Regions from separate parts of the Homo sapiens genome. Here all the other regions are linked to region 1. The links are contacts of gene promoters, found by promoter capture Hi-C in blood cells and fetal thymus (Javierre and others, 2016). All regions are on one chromosome and are shown on one strand. The core of a region is centred on a gene start or on the middle of the fragment in contact, and the rest is flanking DNA. Distances in the headings are between cores, read along the strand shown. Region 1 holds the start of TPD52L3 (TPD52 like 3). Region 2 overlaps LOC124902117 (a long non-coding RNA gene). Region 3 overlaps MLANA (melan-A). Region 4 has its middle 12 kb from the start of MLANA. Region 5 has its middle 13 kb from the start of GLDC. Region 6 overlaps ERMP1 (endoplasmic reticulum metallopeptidase 1). Region 7 has its middle 14 kb from the start of LINC02851.

Region 1 (2,700 bases), core at 91-2,590:
CCCTCTTTTTCTGAGTCTCAGAGAAGATGAAGTTTTCTTGATCATCTTTTTAAAATAAAAGTTGTAGGCCAGGTGAAGCTTTCAAGGTGACTTTGAGACTGAGGGAAGGAAGGAAATGGGGAAGGGAAAACAAACAAACAAACCAAAAAAACACTACAGATTACTTCATACCTCTTTCAAGCTTAAACAGAACTCTACTTTGGCTTTCTAATAAGCTAGTTTTCCAAAAGAGAGTTTGGGCTTTGGCCTAAGACCCCTCTGGAGCCACTGACTTGCCCATTAGATACAGTCTCAGGAAAGCTAATATAATGGCACATTTCGTCTACAAACTTAAGTGAAAAATAACCAGGTACAAAACTTTGGGTTCTCTATCTTAAAAGCAGCAAATATCTGTGTTCTTTTCTCAAAACTGGATTCTGTCAATTTCCTGAATTAACCACTTTACCATTGTGGTTTGCTTGCTTGTTTTTGTTGGGCAGAGTTGCAAATGTAATAAGGGAAGGGGGTCCTTGCACTGGTTTAGTACCAGGCAAGGTTACCAAGGGGGCTCATTCTGGTTCCAGAAAGTGGAGATGGTCATCCTCACTCTCCAGAACTGGGAGTGGCTCATTCCCACTCCCCGGAATCTGGAGTGGGTCTTCCCCACACCCCAAAACTGAGAGCAGATCAACCCCACCCTCCGCAGAAGAAAGACAGTCAGGGCCAAGCTCTTTTGCCCCCTGAGACTTTGGACTTGATTGTCCCCATCAGACCTTCAAAAGATCTGAATGTGGCCGACTTCTTCACGCCTCCAAGCTTCCTGCAGATGAGAGTGCCCATGGTGGACAGAGCAGCTGATGTCTTCTGTTTCACATAGGTGTTGGAGACCTGAACATCAAGCCAGCTCTTGGACAGATTCTGTCTCAGCCCTACCAAGGCGGTGAGGCCTAACTTCCTCTTGAGTTCCCCACAGCGTCTCTCTTTGGCTGCTAGTACGTGGCGTAGGGTTACAATTTCAGCCTCCAATTTAGTGAGTTTGGTTTTGAGCTCTCTTTGCTCGGGCTCTGTCAGATCCTCCAGTTCAGAAGTCGAGTGGGATTCATATGTGCCCACAGAGGTCTCTGTCCTGGCATGTGGCATGGACTGGGAAAGAAGATCTTCGTTAAGAGAGTCCAGGTCCAATTCTTGGTAGAAAGAGTCGAATTATTGGGCTGCAGAGAAATAATCTTGGCCAGCAGAGTCGAAATCTAGGCCTGCAGGCTCAGACTCTTGGCAGGTGGAGTCAGATTTCAGGCGGGAGGGATCCATGGCCCAGCTGGTACAATGGACACCTTGACAGTTGAGTTGACGACCTGGCCTGTGAAGTAGACACGCTAGCTCGTGGTGTTCACTTCCGGGTGGTGGGGGTGGGGAGCCGGGCTGGTCAGGGTTGCGGAGGTGGGACTTCCCGCCCAAACCGCGAGGCTGTAGAATCAGTGCTCAGCTGAGGCGCAACCCACACTGGCGGCATTTTGGCATTGCGAGGACCTCCTGAGGTAGGCAGTGCAGAGATTATTGTCGAAAAGAGAGGAATTTCTCCTGACATGGTAAATGACAAGCCCTGGCCTTCAAACCAAAGCGTCAGGCAACTGTTTTCCACCACACCAGCTCCAACACTTGAAAATCATTTAAACATCATTGTGCTAGTATGAATTTTCAGTTTTGCAGTTGCATTTTCTTTATTCCGCCCTACCTCCACTCACATTTCTGGAAGCATGTCTGCCTACATTCAAGGTTACCTGTTGTGGGAGGTAGTCTGCACAGTAAAGTAAAACTAGTTAAATAGGATCTATCAGAGTGTGGATCCACTCTCCCCTGCCAACCTGCCACCCCAACCTCCCCCCAACCGTAATTCTGCCGAGAGTAAACTTATGCAATGGAAAAATCAGGACGTTAATCCAGTGAGGTCTTGTGGTCGAGCTTCACTTAGCTCATTCTATGGCTGCCTATTCTCAGAGAATATTCTTGAGCAAGTCTTAGACTCTAGTGATTTTGTTGGATATTCTTGTAATTCTTGCGAGCATGATCTTGTGGAACATAATTTGATCCTCAGCAAATTTCAGCAGTTTGCCCTACTCATGCCTATGTGGCTACAATGAAGCATCCAGCTGTGCATTCAAACCAACTTCAGCCCTCCTTTGAGTTTATGTTCTATAACCCTTTCACATAATTTAGTAGTGTTTATTATTGCCTTGTCCTGAGTGGTGTGTTTCCCTAAGTTAAAAAGTGAGAATTGTTCTTGTAAACATGAAGGCTGATGGAGGATTTGGCTATGTGTTTAAAGGCCTGAAAAGGGCAGCAAGGACTCCCTAAAAACCAATTTGTTCCAGAGGGTAGACTTTTCCTCTATTGCCTGTAGAAACACTAGTGGTTTCAGGAACACTCCCAGACTCTGAATCAGAACTCCTCTTTCAAACCTGAGACTAAAGGGTAAAGAAATCCCTGAATTATGCTACATAATATAGAACACACATTGTCTCTTCAAAGTTGAGACTCCAAATCACCAAATCTGAACTTGCACTTGATTTTACTTCTCTGTATTATTTCAACCACCAACCTTGATGCCTATTTTCTTTATAAGCTTCCTCATCCTTCAGTGTATACTATGAAATCTTTTATTAAGCCTTGATTCCTTTTGACAGAGAATGGTTTTTTTTCTCATAGCAAAACTGAGCTTTTCAG
Region 2 (2,700 bases), core at 168-2,667, 390 kb before region 1:
AGGGGATTGTATTTGTCCTTGATTAAGCTTCTCAGTAGTACAGGGTTACACTTCTGAGATCAATTGTGGTTCCAAGAAACAATGAGTCGGTGAATTATCTCAGGTACCCACTTTTCACATTTTCAAATGAGGATAGAAGACCACTAGAAGATAAACTATAAGGCCAGGGGTGGTGACTCACGCCTTTAATCCCAGCACTTTGGGAGGCCGAGGTGGGCAGATCACTTGAGGTAGGGAGTTTGAGACCAGTCTGACCAACATGGAGAAACCTGGTCTGTACTAAAAATAGAAAATAATCCGGGAGTGGTAGCACATGCCTGTAATCCCAGCTACTTGGGAGTCTGAGGCAGAAGAATCACTTGAACCCAGGAGGCAGAGGTTGCAGAGAGCCGAGGTTGCAGTGAGCCGAGATCGCACCATTGCACTCCAGCCTGGGCAATAAGAGCAAAACTCCATCTCAAAAAAAAAAGAAGATAAACTATAAATATTAATACATCTAGCTGGGCACGGTGGCTCACACCTGTAATCCCAACACTTTGGGAGGCTGAGGCGGGCAGATCGCCTGAGGTCAGGAGTTCGAGACCATCCTGGCCAGCATGGTGAAACCCCGTCTCTACTAAAAATACAAAAATTAGCTGGGCGTGGTGGCAAACGGCTGTAATCCCAGCTACTTGGGAGGCTGAGGCAGGAGAATCGCTTCAACCCAGGAGGCGGAGGTTGCAGTGAGCCGAGGTCGCGTGCCATTGCACTCCAGCCTAGGCAACAGAGTGAATTCCGTCTCAAAAAAAAAAAAAAAAAAAATTAATACATCCGATTGTGGATAGCTGTGGGGGTCATTCTGTTATAATCTTTTTGCCCTGCAGGACTGAAAAGTGCAAGATTATATGGCTCAACAATAACCGTGACTGCACAGTTTTCAAAAAATCACTGGTATATCTGTCAGGGCAAACTGTTGGTAATGAAAAATAAGAAAAAGGGGCCAGGTGCAGTGGCTCATGCCTGTAATCCCAGCACTTTGGGAGGCTGAGGTGGGCAGATCACCTGAGATCAGGAGTTCGAGACCAGACTGGCCAACATGCTGAAACTCCATCTCTACTAAAAATACAAAATTAGCCGGCCGTGGTGGCAGGCACCTGTAATCCCAGCTACTCGGGAGGCTGGGGCAGGAAATTGCTTGAACCCGGGAGGCGGAGGTTGCAGTGAGCCAAGATCGTGCCATTGCACTCCAGCCTAGGCGACAAGAGCTAAACTCCATCTCAAAAAAAAAAAAACAAAAGAAAAAAATAATCACTCGTACATATTCAGACAATTTGTTTGTTGTATAGGATATCAAGACATATATTACCAACAGCTTCATTATTCACAATTGTCTGCATTGCTGAAATATTTTTGAATCCACTTTAAATATTCCAAATTTGATTTTGACTCAGCATTTCCAGTCGGCTTTAAAGACCAAAGTATTTTTATCAGCTTGAGGGGTGCTGGCAGGAAAGGGAGTGAAAGAGTGTTTAGGCCCTCATAGGTGGTTGAGGAGGTGGTTCAAATTGACTAGATGGTGGTAGTGGGTAAGATCGCCAGGAAATACTGGAACCCAGGGTCCCCAGGTTTTCAGGTTTTTGGGTATACGACGTGGAAATACTGTAACCCAGGGCCCTGGGTTTTCAGGTTTTTGGGTATACAACATGAAAAAATACCCACTTGAGACCCTTGAGTGTTGTTTCAAAAAGTTCCAGGAAGAAGCTGAGCCTCAGCAAAACAAAAACCAGCTGGATCCAGAGATGCCTGAGATGGATACAAAATGTGGCTAAGTCTTATTACCATACTAAAAACCCTCGCCCAGGTGTTATAGAACCTAACTGGGGTCCACTCACCTGCCTGACACAGTGAGGTTGTGCAGCAGTAGAAAGGAAGGCATGTATTTATTTTTTGTTATTTTTGGAGACAGAGTCTTGCTCTGTTGCCCAGGCTGGAGTGCAGTGGTGTGATCTCGGCTCACTTCAACCTCCGCCTCCTGGGTTCAAGTGATTTTCCTGCCTCAGCCTCCGGAGTAGCTGGGACTAGAGTTGCCAGCCACCACACCCAGCTAATTTTTGTATTTTTAGTAGAGATGGGGTTTTGCCATGTTGGCCAGGCTGGTCATGAACTCCTGGCCTCAAGTGATCCGACCACTTTGGCCTCCCAAAGTGCTGGGATTACAGGTATGAGCCACTGCACCTGAACTTGTTATTTTTCAAATGTTTTGTTTTGAGACAGGGTCTCATTCTGTTTCCCAGGCTGGAGTGCAGTGGCACGATGATGGCTCATGTAGCCTCAACCTCTTGGGCTCAAGCAATCCCCCTGCCTCAGCCTCCCAAGTAGCTGGGACTACAGAAGTGCACCATCATGCCCAGCTAATTTTTTAATTTTTTGTAGAGACAGGGTTTCGGCATTTTGCCCCTGATCTCGAACTCCTGGGATGGAGCAATCCTCCCGCCTTGCCCTCCCAAAGTGCTGGGATGAGAGGTGTGAGCCATCATGCACAGCTGAAGGCATCTATTTGCAAAGATGCAAAGCAAGGAGGATCAGGCAGCTCATGCCCAAATTCTGACCTCCCTGATGCCTTGCAGTTTTCTTTTTCTGTTCTTTTTTTTTTTTAAGGCTGGGGTAAATTTCAGGAAAGCCAAAGTTACAGGCAAAATTGTAAATCAATAGATGGAGGTT
Region 3 (2,701 bases), core at 16-2,515, 430 kb after region 1:
ATTTATCATCCCCTATTTTCACAGAAGAGGAAATAAAAGGCAGAGGATACATGACTCGCTGGTGATCATACAGAGCTAGCACAAAACAGAGGCTGGATTTGAACCTGAATCCGTCTCAATTATGTTCGTGCCCTCCCTTCCCTAAACTCCCCGCTTTGCTCCTTGCAGCCCTAGGGAGAAGTGTCTGGGCTGAACCTACAGCAAAGCTGTGGCATTACTTATTGAGAAGGATCTTGTCTAAGCAGCAGGGTGCCAATCTGGGGGTCTACACCAGCCTCTTGGGCCCTGTGTTCAGTGACCCCTGGGAAGCATTACAGTTACCACAAAGTTACCACAAAGACCCTGGAAACAGGGCCTGGAGCTGTTCACTCCGGGCAAGCATCATCAATTAGCTAACATCTGCCTGATCACAGCATGATCAAAATCGACAGAACTGACTCTGTTATCTGTGGTTGTCAACTCGCTAAGAAAGTTTCTGCAGAGCTGAGTGACTTACAAGAGACTGAGCAGCTACAGGAGAAGCAAGGTTTAACTAAGGCTTCTGCTGGAGAGACTTTTGCTCAGTACCATCTACTGGACAACTTCTGTCTCAAGGCTGAGGAGACATCAAGCTTATCCTGTCCGTCTCCAAACAGGATAGAGCGAACCATGGGATGACAGTGCTAGATGGAAACTCTGACTTATGTAGGTCAGTCCACCCGCTTTATAGATCAGGAAGCTGAGACCTATGAAGATTCATCAACATTACCATAACCATAGTGACTACCATTCATTGAGCACCAATTTGTGCCAGGCACTGGGCTAGGCACCCCCACATATATGCTTTTATTTCATCCTAACCACAGTCCTCGGAGTTAGGAATGATGTTCATTTTACAGCTGACATTATGCTGGTCAAGTGCCCAGGGCTGCACAACCAGCAAGTGGCAGAACCAACATTCACAGCAACTGGAACGGGAGACCAAGCAAGTGAGCACCAGAATTTGGGCCAGATCCAGGTCTCCCAGGCCAGTGCTTTTCCTGCAGAGTCACTCTTTCCTGAACTGAAGCTGTCACAAGGAGTGTTCAGTGTGTTCTCGTGACTGAAGGCAGCTGATTCAACTCCCAACATGCCTGTGCTCTCATTTTACCCTGTGGCGTCCACTTGAATATCTTGACACAGTCAGAGCTCTGTTACAGCACTTTATGCATGGTCACGTGGTACTCACAACATGCCCAAGTAACTGAGAGCGAAAAGCACCAGGGTATGCCTGACACATTGGAAGAACCCACTGCCCAGCTTGGCAGGGCGCCTCAGAGTGTCTTCCAAATACCACCTGCAGCAGAATCACCTGAGATGCACGTTAAGGTGCAGATCATAGGACTCCACCCCTGGCCTACCCAATCAGCCTCTTAGGTGGCAGCACCTAGAAATCTGCATTTTAACAAGTTCCATGGATGACTTGTGTCCACCCAACTGTGAGAACTGCTCTCCACTGAGGTTTCAAAGAGATACATAATACCCAAAGCAGGTATGTAGTCCTTCTTGGCTGGATGTGGGAACTTATTTTGCATCATTCTTCTTCATTCCACCTGCTGGCACAATTGTGAGAAGGATAAATATTCTCAGATCTTAGGGATGCATTGTTTTAATGAAGATTGCCCCATTGTGCAGGATCTGGATTTTATGCAAAAAAATTAAAAAAAAAAAAAGAAGATGGCCCCATTCCCCTACCTCCATCCCACCTATTTAAACAAACAGCAATGGGGGCAGGGACTTTTCATGAGAGGAATGACTTTTGACATTGGTGGCCATGTGCAGTTACTTATTTTCTGGACCGATCTCCTTCAGTACCTGCACAAGATGATGATGTTCCATGTATTCAGGGGTTCCTACACTCACAGACTGAAGTTAAGTGTTTCATTGTGCTGGAAGCTTTGGCCATCTGACCCTTCTACAGACAGCAAAATGTCAAAAGGAATTACTTTCTCTTTAAAGGATAGCTCCCACGCATACGGGTTGAGTGGGTATTTTTCTTTTGTGCTGGAATCCAGAGGCTCCCTCTTGTTCTCAAGGAAAATGTCAGATAACCCACCTGACCCTGCTTATGCACGTCATTCAGGTTGCAAGACACAGAAAGCTTGTGCCTTCAGTCAAGGGGTTCCTTCACATGATAGTGGTCATAACCCCCTTTGCCCTTTATTAAGCCATTGTCCCTCAACTCCAAACCTACCTTTCTATGCTCTGCTCTGTGATGCTGGGACTGGACTCTGCAAATGCCACTTCTCCTTTGCCCACTGGCTCCCATTAGAGTACTCTAGAGGGTGCCTACAAACCTGGGGCATCAAGAAGGAGCAGCTCCTTCCAGTGTGCTTCTGGCTCCTGTCAGGATCACCCCAGCAATGCTCACATTGTCTGTATATGCCAAGCACCAGCTCGTTTTCCGGCATTGTCAGAGCCAGCTTCATTATGCCCCTCCCCAGCAGAGCACTGGCTGACCTCAGAGGCCTGAGTATTTGATTCATGCCCCTCACTTCTAAGCTCTTGAGACACCAGAACCAGCCAAACAAAAATCTCTCCTTAGAGATCTGGGTCCCATTTCTGTGGCGTCCCTCCTCCCAACTCTAGGTCCTGATGGCCTCACCCTTCCGTTTGTTACCCCAGACACGGGGGTAGAAGCAGCATTCTGTGGGTACAGCCTTGGTTGCCCCGATGCCTTCTT
Region 4 (2,722 bases), core at 56-2,555, 450 kb after region 1:
TTCAGACTTTTTAAGAGCTAAAGAACTTCAGTGTTTTTTTGTTTGTTTGTTTTTTGTTTTTGTTTGTTTGTTTGAGACAGAGTCTCACTCTGTTGCCGAGGCTGGAGTGCAGTGGCGGGATCTCAGCTCACTGCAACCTCCGTCTCCCAGGTTGAAGCAGTTCTCTCCTGCATCAGCCTCCTGAGTAGCTGGGATTACAGGCGCGTGCCATGACGCCCGGCTAATTTTTGTGTTTTTAGTAGAGACAGGGTTTCACCATGTTGGTCCGGCTGGTCTCTAACTCTTCACCTTGTGATTCGCCCACCTCAGCCTCCCAAAGTGCTGGGATTTGGCTTGTTTTTTTATTTTTTATTTTTAAAGAAACTTCTGGTGGGGTGTGATGGCTCACACCTGTAATCCCAGCACTTTGGGAGGCTGAGGTGGACAGAACTCTTGAGGTCAGGAGTGAGACCAGCCTGGCCAACATGGTGAAACCCTGTCTCTACTAAAAATAAAAAAAGTTAGCTGGGCATGGTGCTGTGTGCCTGTAATCCCAGCTACTTGGGAGGTTGAAGTTGGAGAATCTCTGGAACCCGGGAGGCGGAGGTTGCAGTGAGCTGAGATCATACCACTGCACTCCAGCTTGGGAGACAGAGCGAGATTCTGTCTCAGAAAGAAGTAAGTTCTACGTAGCATTTTTGTCTTGTTACATTAAAAAATAATTCAGTAGAACTGACTTATTATCTGACAGGGAGATCCGAGCTATGGGATTTTTTAGAATTATAGTCAGAGGTCGGATAAATCCATTATCTCTGACATTCTGCAGGTAAATAAGCTAGAACCTAGAGAGGCTGACCATGTGAGTCAGATTATCTGGTTCTGTATCTCTGCATTTCCTTCCAGTGAGTCATCCCTGAGCTCATTTAATTGGTCCAGCCCAGTGTCTGCTTGTCAGTTAATTAAGAGAAGCTTCAAGGGCCCAAGCATATCTTAAAGAGCCAGCGGTGGCCACCAGACCAGTGTGGGCGGTCATCAAGGGTCAGGTTCCTTTGGGGCCGCTGGCATTGGGGATTGGGATTGGGTTGATCATGGGTCAACCAGCCCTTTAGGGATGAAAAGGAGGCAGGGTCTCAAGGGGACAATGCCTGCCAGCAGCCGGCTGTGTGGGGGCTGCAACTCCCATCAGGCTTTGATGTGTTTCTTTTTTCTCTTTTTCTTTCTCTCTTTTTTTTTTGAGACAGAGTCTTGCTCTGTTGCCCTTCCCAGGCTGGAGTGCACCATCACACCCGGATAATTTTTTTATTTTTAGTAGAGATGGGGTTTCACCATGTTGGCCAGGCTGGTCTCGAACTCCTGACCTAAAGTGATCTGCCCACCTCAGCCTCCTAAAGTGCTGGAATTACAGGTGTGAGCCACCGCACCCAGCCTGATGTGTTTCTTGATGTTTCTTTGTATTCTTCTGGAAGTCCCTCTGATGTTTAGCAAAGTCTTTGTAATATTTCAGCCAGCATCAGCTCTACTGTGAGTTTTAATGAGGCGTCAGAACAACCCTGGAAGTCAATAGATGGCAACAGCAGAGAGTAAAGTGAGAACTCCATGGGGGAGAAGAAACCCTCAGGAGAGGCAGGAGCTCTGGCATCAACCATCTCTCTGCCCAGAATCTCCTTCCAAGTTGAAGCTTCAGGAGTTTGGGTTCTTCCAGGGTACATTATTGGTCCGATAAGATTGGAAAACACTGAACTAAATAAAGTTAAACAGGTTTCTTCATTACAAACTCTTCTAACATCCTTAATCTACTGATATACCTTATGAATCTTCAAGAGAAGACAGTTGCATTGCCAGCAGAGTTTCTCGAACTATTTAATTATGAAGAAAGTGTTTGTTGGCTTTGGTGCTCCAAGAAACACTCTTTGGGCCACATCATTATGAAGAGTCATTATAGATCCCACCTCTTGTGTGATTGATGGGCCTATTCCTCGAAGTAGTTAACAAAGAGACTAAAATGTAATCCCTTTCCACAAGGAGCTCAGCCCATAAATATCTACTAAATGTATGTCTTCTTACTGAGTGCCAGAAACTGAGCAAACTGATTATTACATGGATTATTTCATATTCTTCTCAAATCCTCACAGCAGCGCTGTCAGGTAGGTGTGATTATTACACCCCTTTTACAGAGGAGAATGAGGCTCATGAGTTTAGATAATTTAGGATTACATAAGTAGTAACTGGCAAATGGCCCAACTCCCATTCTTATACATGGTGCCTCCCCAAGGGGGACACTTCTCAGGAACTAAACACAGTCCAGCATAAGATGCCTTTTAAGTATGGTTGCTCTTCCCCAGGGTCGGTTATTTATTTAGTAACATTGGTTCCAGGGACCCTCCATGTTGATTATTCCTTAATGTTCTCAGGAGCAGGGACTGACTCATTCACCTTTCCATTATCAGTAGGGACTCAATAGATATTTCTTGAATGAATAAAAGTAAATAAATAAATGAAGACACTGATTTTTAACTGGTCCTGGTGATAAATAATTTCTAACAGAGGCATTGCCCAGATCCTTTCAACTAGTCCATAACATTTCTTGAGCTCCTATGATATGCCAAGGACTGGATTCAGTAGTCACCAAAGCTTGTTGAGTTGCTGTTTCCCTTTCTGAACCTCTAATAGTCTACATCACATGAACACATGTTTTCGAAGGCAGACCTTCTTCAGACAATACATGGACAGCCTTAGGCATAAA
Region 5 (2,743 bases), core at 214-2,713, 330 kb before region 1:
CGGGCGCAGTAGCTCGCACCTGTAATCCCAGCACTTTGGGAGGCCAAGGCGGGCGGATCACGAGGTCAGGAGATCGAGACCATCCTGGCTAACACGGTGAAACCCCGTCTCTACTAAAAATACAAAAAAAATTAGCTGGGCGTGGTGGTGGGAACCTGTAATCACAGCACTTTGGGAGGCCGAGGCGGGCGGATCACGAGGTCAGGAGATCGAGACCATCCTGGCTAACACGGTGAAACCCCGTCTCTACTAAAAATACAAAAAAAATTAGCTGGGCGTGGTGGTGGGAACCTGTAATCACAGCACTTTGGGAGGCCGAGGCGGGCGGATCACGAGGTCAGGAGATCGAGACCATCCTGGCTAACACGGTGAAACCCCGTCTCTACTAAAAATACAAAAAAAATTAGACGGGCGTGGTCGCGGGCATCTGTAATCCCAGCTACTTGGGAGGTTGAGGCAGGAGAATGGAGTGAACCCGGGAGGCGGAGCTTGCAGTGAGCAGAAATCGCCCCACTGCACTCCAGCCTGGGCGACAGAGCAAGACTCCGTCTCAAAAAAAAAAAAAAGGCCCGGCGCGGTGGCTCACGCCTGTAATCCCAGCACTTTGGAAGGCTGAGGCGGGCGGATTACGAGGTCAGGAGATCGAGACCGCGGTGAAACCCCGTCTCTACTAAAAATACAAAAAAAAAAATTAGCCGGGCGCAGTGCAGGCGCCTGTATTCCCAGCTACTCGGGAGGCTGAGGCAGGAGAATGGCGTGAACCCGGGAGGCGGAGCTTGCAGTGAGCCAAGATCGCGCCACTGCACTCCAGCCTGGGCGACAGAGCGAGACTCCGTCTCAAAATAAATAAATAAATAAATAAAAATAAAAATAAAAAAGAAAAGCAGAACCTCCCTGGCAGATAGGTGTGTAAGTGGGTCTTTTTGAAAACCTGTGTAAAAGGATGCCTAGGTGCTGACTTGTTTCTTCCTAATGGTCCAACCTCTAGCATTCGTGCTCAGCCTAGGGTCTGAGTGGCTGCTCCTGACCTGGATCTTGCAGGAGGAGTTTGCGGAGGTTACACAACTTGCTCAATACCTAGGGGACTGGCATCAAATCAGCCCATCCATGATATTTAATATAAAGATATGTATCAGAGATTAGGGGGTGGCTAAAGTACCCCCCAATTCTCTTATTCTGTACCAGACATTACTCTGGATTTATAATACTCACATCTTTTGAATGATATAGTTTTTGCCATTTGATATCTTGTGAGCATTTATTACAAGATTTCAGCCCAGTAAACGACCAAAGAGGTCTTGATCTTATTGCATCATGTTGATTTACCCAAGTTAGGAACATTGTGATAAAAGCAAATAAAAATAGCAGTCTCTTTAAATATTTGGGTTTGCAAAGACTAACACTCTGGTAGTATAAGAAGAAGAAGGGAAGGAAATGATGACTTATTCAAAACTCACAATGACTGTATTTTACAAATGAGAAACAGAGGCAGAATAAAGTTAAGTAAACTGCTACAATGTACATTTTCAGTAAGTGGCAGAGCCGGGACTCATCCATAGGGATCTTGGTCAGGACTGAGATCCAGCTCCCATTCCCACAGCAAATCACGATTTACTTGGGGTAGCCCCCTGACTTGGCCAGGGCATGAATGTCTTCTGTGCGATTTTTTTTTCCATTAAAAAACACATTGGGCCAGGTGCAGTGGCTCACACCTGTCATCCCAGCACTTTGGGAGGTCAACGGGGGCTGACTGCTTGAGGCCAGGAGTTCGAGACCAGCCTGGGGAACATGGTGAAACTCCATCTCTACAAAAAATATAAAAATTAGCTGGGCATGGTGGTGAGCACCTGTAGTCCTAGCTTCCCAGTGGGGAGGGCAGGTGCTGCTGAGGCGGGAGGATTGCTTGATTCCGGGAAGGCAAGGTTGTGGTGAACCAAGATCGCACCACGGCACTCCAGCTTGGGCAATGGAGCAAGACCCAGTCTCAAAACAAAACAAAACTAAAAAAATCCATTGCATTAAAAAAAAGTTTTATTAAAAACAACAACAACACACTTCAAAGCTGGGAGTGGTGGCATGTGCCTGTATTTCCAGCTACTTGGAAGGCTGAAATGGGAATATCTTTTGAGCCTAGGAGTCAGAGGCTACAATAAGCTATGATCATGTCACTGTACTCCAGCCTGGGTGACAGAGGGAGATCCTGTCTTTAAAACCACACAAAAAAATTGGTTGGGCGTGGTGGCTCACGCCTGTAATCCCAGCACTTTGGGAGGCCGAGAAAGGCGGATCACCTGAGGTCAGGAGTTTGAGACCAGCCTGGCCAACACAGTGAAACCCCGGGTCTACTAAAATAGAAAAATTAGCCAGGTTATGGTGGCATGGGCCTGTAGTCCCAGCCACTCAGGAGGCTGAGGCAGGAGAATCGCTTGAAACCGGGAGGCGGAGGTTGCAGTGAGCCGAGATCGCGCCACTGCACTCCAGTCTGGGCAACAGTATTGTTTTTGAGACACAGTCTTGCTCTATCACCCAGGCTGGAGTGCAATGGTGCGATCTCAGCTCACTGCAACCTTCGCCTCCAGGTTCAAGTGATTCTTCTGCCTCAGCCTCCTGAGTAGTTTGGATTACAGATGCCCACCACCATGCCCGGCTAGTTTTTGTATTTTTAGTAGAGACGGGGGTTTCACCATGTTGGTCAGGCTGGTCTCGAACTCCAAGCCTCAGGTAATCTGCCCGCCTTGGCCTC
Region 6 (2,700 bases), core at 170-2,669, 500 kb after region 1:
AAGTTATATTCTATCCTGCTTAGTCTTTAGCTTTTTTTGTTTGTTTTCTGAGACAGGGCCTGGCTCTGTCGCCCAGGCTGGAGTGCAGTGGCTCCATCTCGGGTCTGTAGCCTCCACCTCCCAGGTTCAAGCAGTCCTCCCACCTCAGCCTCTTGAGTAGCTGGGACTACAGGCGGATAGTAGTCTACATCTGGCTAGTTTTTGTAGTTTTAGAAGAGATGGGGTTTCACCATGTTGCCCAGGCTGGTCTCAAACTCCTGAGCTCAAGCAATCCACCCACCTCAGCCTCCGAAAGTCCTGGGATTACAGGCGTGAGCCACCGTGCCTGGCCAGTGGTCACACGTTTTGAATACATCCCTAGTCCTTGTATTGGTTTGATATGGGGAGAAGTTGGGAGTGGGATGGTGGAGAAAACTGAAGGGGTCAACTCGTGGGAGGCAACAATAAAAATATGGAACTTTATAAGTGATGTTCACTTGGTGTCTGAAATAATGAAAGGCGGTCCCTTTTATATAAGGCAAAGAACTAAGCTTTTTTGGGGAGGAAGGGGTGTGTAGTGGAAAAGTTACCCACGCTAAGTGTCAATTTTAACTACAAACCTTTGTTATTCTTTTGGTTACTTCCAGGGATTATCTTGAACACATAACCTCCATTGGCCCCAGGACTACAGGAAGTCCAGAAAATGAAATTCTGACCGTGCACTACCTTTTGGAACAGATTAAACTGATTGAAGTGCAAAGCAACAGCCTTCATAAGATTTCAGTAGATGTACAACGGCCCACAGGCTCTTTTAGCATTGATTTCTTGGGAGGTTTTACAAGCTATTATGACAACATCACCAATGTTGTGGTAAAGCTGGAACCCAGAGATGGAGCCCAGCATGCTGTCTTGGCTAATTGTCATTTTGACTCAGTAGCAAACTCACCAGGTATGTACCTGTTTTTTAGTCATTTGGAACTTGTCACAGCCCAGAAAGTTTATTAACATAACCCCAAGCTACTTGGGCAATTGTGGGGACCATTTTCTTGGGCAAACCTTTTTTCTTTGTGATGGAAAGCAGGATAATTAGGATAGTATCATTTAGTTTAGGATCTAACCATTCTGTCTTCTCTTAAGTGCTTTATTAATATTATTTTTTGGTGTTAATGCCAGCAGCCCAGTGATAAGACTTGGAATGTTTCTGGTAGACTGAAGCAGCTTTCTCAATGTTACCAGACAGTGTGTGTGTCCTAGTGTCCTGGAGTTAGGTTCTGACACTTAGAAAGTGTTTTACTCAGCTGGGTGTTATACTAGGCTTTGGGGATACCACATAAGGACAGTCCCTGCCTTCAAGGGTTACTGCATGGTTTTAGAGCAGGGGTGTCCAATCTTTTGGCTGCCCTGGGCCACATTGGAAGAAGAAGAATTGTCATGGGCCACACATAATATACACTAATGATGGCTGATGAGCTTAAAAAAAAAAACTCATGTTTTAAGAAAGTTTACAAATTTGTATTGGGCTGCATTCAAAGCTGTCCTGGGCTGCGGGTTGGCGGATATCTCTTCTAGCAGATTCTGTTGACCTATAAAGTGAGAATTTTGCTCCACTGAGGGTGCCATACTGTTAAAGTACCTAATTAATGTGTAAATCTTTCTCTGAAAATCATTTGGCAAAATAGAATACTTGCATTTAGGACAGTGCCTGATGCAGTATATATTTGTCAAATGAATGGGAATCCCCTAAATTGAACTTCCATTTATTAAAATATTTATTTTTCAGAAAATTGTATTCAGTGGTTAAAGGGATTGTAAATAGGGATGGAAAATAGCATTTACAATGGCATAGCATTTTAGTGGTAGACAAGACCTGAGATGGCATCTGGCTGAACCCCTCATTTGATACAGGAGTACATTTAGCTAGCTGGTCATCGCTGATCAGAGACAAAACTAGGATAAGATGCTGGATTTCCTGGCCAGTCAGTTCTTTCAGCTACATTTGAAAGGAAAAAGAATATTAGGGTGTAATTAATACTCCCTTTTGCAAATTGCTTAACTTCTTAGTTTCTCATCTGTGTAATGGAGAAAATAATAGTACTTTCCTAATAGTGTTGCTTGGAGGATTAAAAATAAGTAAAACGCTAAAATAGTACCTGGCATGGAAAGTGATTTTTAAAAGTTTTTATTAACTCTTATGTAATATTAACACTTCTGGATTACTCGAACTTATAGCAGGCCAAATTTGAACGTCTAGAGTTATACAAAATGTAAGTAAAATTTATTTGCTTGATAAAATGATTCATATTAGAATATCTTCATTTAGAAAGCTTGACAATTGCGTTTAGAATGTAACTTGCATTTTCAAAAATCAGTATACACACGTTTGTTAAATAAGCCAGAAGTACCTTCGTGTGCTGCTGGGGTAACCAGTGGTTTAGTGTTTTTTTTTTTTTTTTTTTGGCTGGGGGGCCAAGTCTCACTCTGTCACCAGGCTGGCATGCAGTGGCACAATCTTGGCTCACTGCATCCTCTGCCTCCCGGGTTTAAGCGATTCTCCTACTGTGCCACCACACTCGGCTGATTTTTTTTGTATTTTTGGCAGCGACAGGGTTTCACCATGTTGGCCAGGCTGGTCTTGAACTCCTGACCTCAAGTGATCCGCCTACCTCAGTCTCCCAAATTTCTGAGATTATAGGTGTGAGCCACTGTGCCCGGCCACCAGTG
Region 7 (2,700 bases), core at 44-2,543, 360 kb before region 1:
TGAGGCAGGAGAATTGCTTGAACCCAGGAGGCGGAGGTTGCAGTGAGCCAGATCGCACCACTGCATTCCAGCCTGGGTGACAAAGCAAGACTCTGTTTCAAAAATAAATAAATAAAAATAAAAAATAAATAAAAATAGCTAGGCATCGTGGCATGCTTGTAGTCCCAGCCACTCAAGAGGCTGAGGCAGGATTCCCTGAGCCCAACAGCTCAAGGCTGCAGTGAACTATGATTGTGTCACTGCACTCCAGTCTGGGAGACAGAGTGAAATCCTGTCTCTAACAAAAAAAAGAAAGGCCTGAAAACCATTTTTTTTTATTTTGAGACAGATTCTCATTCTGTCACCTAGACCGGTGTGCACTGGTGCGATTTCGGCTCACTGAAACCTCCATCTCCCGGGTTCAAGTGATTCTCATTCCTCAGCCTCCTGAGTAGCTGCAATTACAAATGTGTGTCACCACACCCAGCTAATTTTTGTATTTTTAGTAGAGACGCGGTTTCACCATGTTGCCCAGGCTGGTCTTGAACTCCTGACCTCAAGTGATTCACCTGCTTTGGCGTCCCAAAGTGCTAGGATTACAGGCATGAGACACTGTGCCCAGCCAATAATTAAAAATTTAAAAAAGAACACACACACACACACACAATAAAAAGAGCCTGGAATGTTACAAGTGTATTATAGTTTATTGAAGTAAAAATTACATTTATGACATCATGAACAATTGTCTTATGACACAGTGACAAGGCTTGAAATTTAAAAAAGGAAAAAAGGGAACAATTGTCTGTTTGCCAGTCAACTAAAATACATACTGCTGGCCGGGCATGGTGGCCCATGCCTGTAAGCCCAGCACTGTCAAACCAATGATCTCTTTTTTTGATAAATGATTTATTAATGAATCACATTCTCTAAAATATTCCAAATCAGAAAATGTTGGGTTAAATACTTGTCAAGTTTCACAAGGTGATTAAATATACAATTGTGGGGTCCCACTCAGAACACTGGAGTTAGTATAAAGATTATTTTAAGCTGAAGACATTTGAGATGGAACAGATGCAGAAAGAAGCTTCCTTGGGACTTCCCTTATTTGATTAAAAGTAGAAACTTCTGAGAAATGAGGACGGACATAAATTTCCTGTTTGGGGTGGCTTCTACTCCCAGGGGAGAGACCCAGAATAAACCTACCATAAATCCCCTCTCTGGCAGTTTTATGAACCTGAAAAAGACCACTCACACCTATATAAGAAAGTTTGGTTTGTGATAATGTTTGCATGTCTCCCATTTGTTCTTCTAAAAACACATTTGTCTTTTTTAGAGAAACCTATTTGTCCTTCCTATAGAAGTCCTTTTTGGCTAGGCGCGTTGGCTCAAGCATGTAATCCCAGCACTTTGGAAGGCTGAGGCAGGCAGATCACCTGAGGTCAGGAGTTCAAGACCAGCCTGGCCAATGTGGTGAAACCCTGTCTCTACTAAAAATACAAAAATTAACTGGGCATGGTGGCAGGCACCTGTAATCCCAAGCTTCTTGGGAGACTGAAACAGGAGAATCGCTTGAACCTGGGAGGCAGAGGTTGCGGTGAGCTGAGACTGCGCCACTGCACTCCAGCCTGAGCAACATAGTGAGACCCTGTCTCAAAAAAAAGAAAAAAGTCCAGGCCGGGCACGGTGGTTCATGCCTGTAATCCCAGCACTTTGGGAGGCTGAGGCGGGAGGATCACGAGGGCAAGAGATTGAGACCATCCTGGCCAACATGGTTAAACCCTGTCTCTACTAAAAATACAAAAATTAGCTGACCGTGGTGGTGTGCACCTGTAATCCCAGCTACTCAGGAGGCTGAGGCAGGAGAATTGCTTGAACCTGGGAGGCAGAGGTTGCAGTGAGACAAGATGGCACCACTGTACTCCATCCTGGTGACAGAGTGAGGCTCCGTATCAAAAACAAAAAAAAATTAGCAGGGTGTGGTGGTTCACGCCTGTAGTCCCAGCTACTTGGGGGGCTGAGGTGAGAGGATCACTTGAGCCTGGTCAAGGTTGAGGTTGCAGTGAGCTGTGTTTGTACCACTGCACTCCAACCTGGACAACAAAGTGAGACCCTGTCTCCAAAAACAAAAATGTAGGTAAATACCATCATTTGTGACAAGATGGATGAATCTGGAAAACATTATGCTAAGTGAAATAAGCCAGGTATAGAAAGACAAATACTACATGATCTCACTTATATGTGGAATCCAAACATGTCAAATTCATAGCAGCAGATAGTAGAATGATGGCTACCAGAGGCTGGGGAGAGTGGAGACGAGGAGAATGGGGAATTGTTAATCAAAGGGTGCAAAATTTCAGATAGAAGGCTTTGAGATTTACTGCACAATAGAGTGACTATAATCAATAATGATGTAGTTTTATCTAGCCATCTAAAATGGAGAGATGAATCGTTCTGCCTATACAAACAAGTCAGTTATTAGAGGGTGGTTGAGGTATGCTACTCAGAAGATTTCAGGGTGTCTTCCAGCTGAAATCTCAATGTTCTCAGTATGAAAAACCTGAAATCAGATGCCTATGTAAGGGAAGTGCTATTCACCCAGTAAACCCAAAAAAGCAAATGGAGAATGCTGGCTATTTTGCCTTTCTGACATTTGTTTGGGAATCTGCAGGAACCTCTCCTTTCCCCTCCCCCAATAAGACCATTTAAGTGTGTGTTAAACAA

What was found. The method cuts DNA at HindIII sites, captures the fragments that hold promoters and counts their contacts. A CHiCAGO score of 5 or more calls a contact.
Region 2: a fragment that was not itself captured here is called in contact with the fragment with the promoter of TPD52L3 in region 1 in 1 of 17 cell types (endothelial precursors); the score reaches 5.9 in endothelial precursors.
Region 3: a contact is called between a fragment that was not itself captured here and the fragment with the promoter of TPD52L3 in region 1, in 1 of 17 cell types (endothelial precursors). The highest score is 6.8, in endothelial precursors.
Region 4: a fragment that was not itself captured here is called in contact with the fragment with the promoter of TPD52L3 in region 1 in 1 of 17 cell types (endothelial precursors); the score reaches 6.3 in endothelial precursors.
Region 5: a fragment that was not itself captured here is called in contact with the fragment with the promoter of TPD52L3 in region 1 in 1 of 17 cell types (endothelial precursors); the score reaches 7.3 in endothelial precursors.
Region 6: a fragment that was not itself captured here is called in contact with the fragment with the promoter of TPD52L3 in region 1 in 1 of 17 cell types (endothelial precursors); the score reaches 5.2 in endothelial precursors.
Region 7: a contact is called between a fragment that was not itself captured here and the fragment with the promoter of TPD52L3 in region 1, in 1 of 17 cell types (endothelial precursors). The highest score is 5.4, in endothelial precursors.

The regions. Positions count from the first base shown.
Region 1 is chr9:6,327,015-6,329,714 of GRCh38, reverse strand. It overlaps TPD52L3 (TPD52 like 3), which reads right to left and starts at 1,340. Exons shown (of 2, transcript NM_001001874.3): 1 at 753-1,340. The coding sequence starts at 1,119. It overlaps LOC107987046 (a long non-coding RNA gene), which reads left to right and starts at 1,447. Exons shown (of 3, transcript XR_001746614.2): 1 at 1,447-1,514. The HindIII fragment of the contact is 1,804 bases long and covers 798-2,601 here.
Region 2 is chr9:6,718,153-6,720,852 of GRCh38, reverse strand. It overlaps LOC124902117 (a long non-coding RNA gene), which reads right to left. Exons shown (of 4, transcript XR_007061412.1): 2 at 1,872-2,700; 3 at 1,699-1,782; 4 at 389-431. Among named protein-coding and RNA genes, the nearest start is that of LINC02851, 15 kb to the right of the region's middle. The HindIII fragment of the contact is 2,775 bases long and covers 30-2,700 here.
Region 3 is chr9:5,894,374-5,897,074 of GRCh38, reverse strand. All of the region lies in intron 2 of MLANA (melan-A), which reads right to left. It also overlaps a transcript of BRD10 not described here. Among named protein-coding and RNA genes, the nearest start is that of MLANA, 4.8 kb to the right of the region's middle. The HindIII fragment of the contact is 1,303 bases long and covers 614-1,916 here.
Region 4 is chr9:5,877,865-5,880,586 of GRCh38, reverse strand. It overlaps a transcript of BRD10 not described here. Among named protein-coding and RNA genes, the nearest start is that of MLANA, 12 kb to the left of the region's middle. RefSeq lists an enhancer at 465-966. The HindIII fragment of the contact is 709 bases long and covers 951-1,659 here.
Region 5 is chr9:6,657,445-6,660,187 of GRCh38, reverse strand. No RefSeq gene overlaps it. Among named protein-coding and RNA genes, the nearest start is that of GLDC, 13 kb to the right of the region's middle. The HindIII fragment of the contact is 7,884 bases long and covers 1-2,743 here.
Region 6 is chr9:5,828,955-5,831,654 of GRCh38, reverse strand. ERMP1 (endoplasmic reticulum metallopeptidase 1) reads left to right here. Exons shown (of 15, transcript NM_024896.3): 2 at 627-928. Among named protein-coding and RNA genes, the nearest start is that of ERMP1, 2.8 kb to the left of the region's middle. The HindIII fragment of the contact is 1,773 bases long and covers 533-2,305 here.
Region 7 is chr9:6,688,549-6,691,248 of GRCh38, reverse strand. No RefSeq gene overlaps it. Among named protein-coding and RNA genes, the nearest start is that of LINC02851, 14 kb to the left of the region's middle. The HindIII fragment of the contact is 455 bases long and covers 1,066-1,520 here.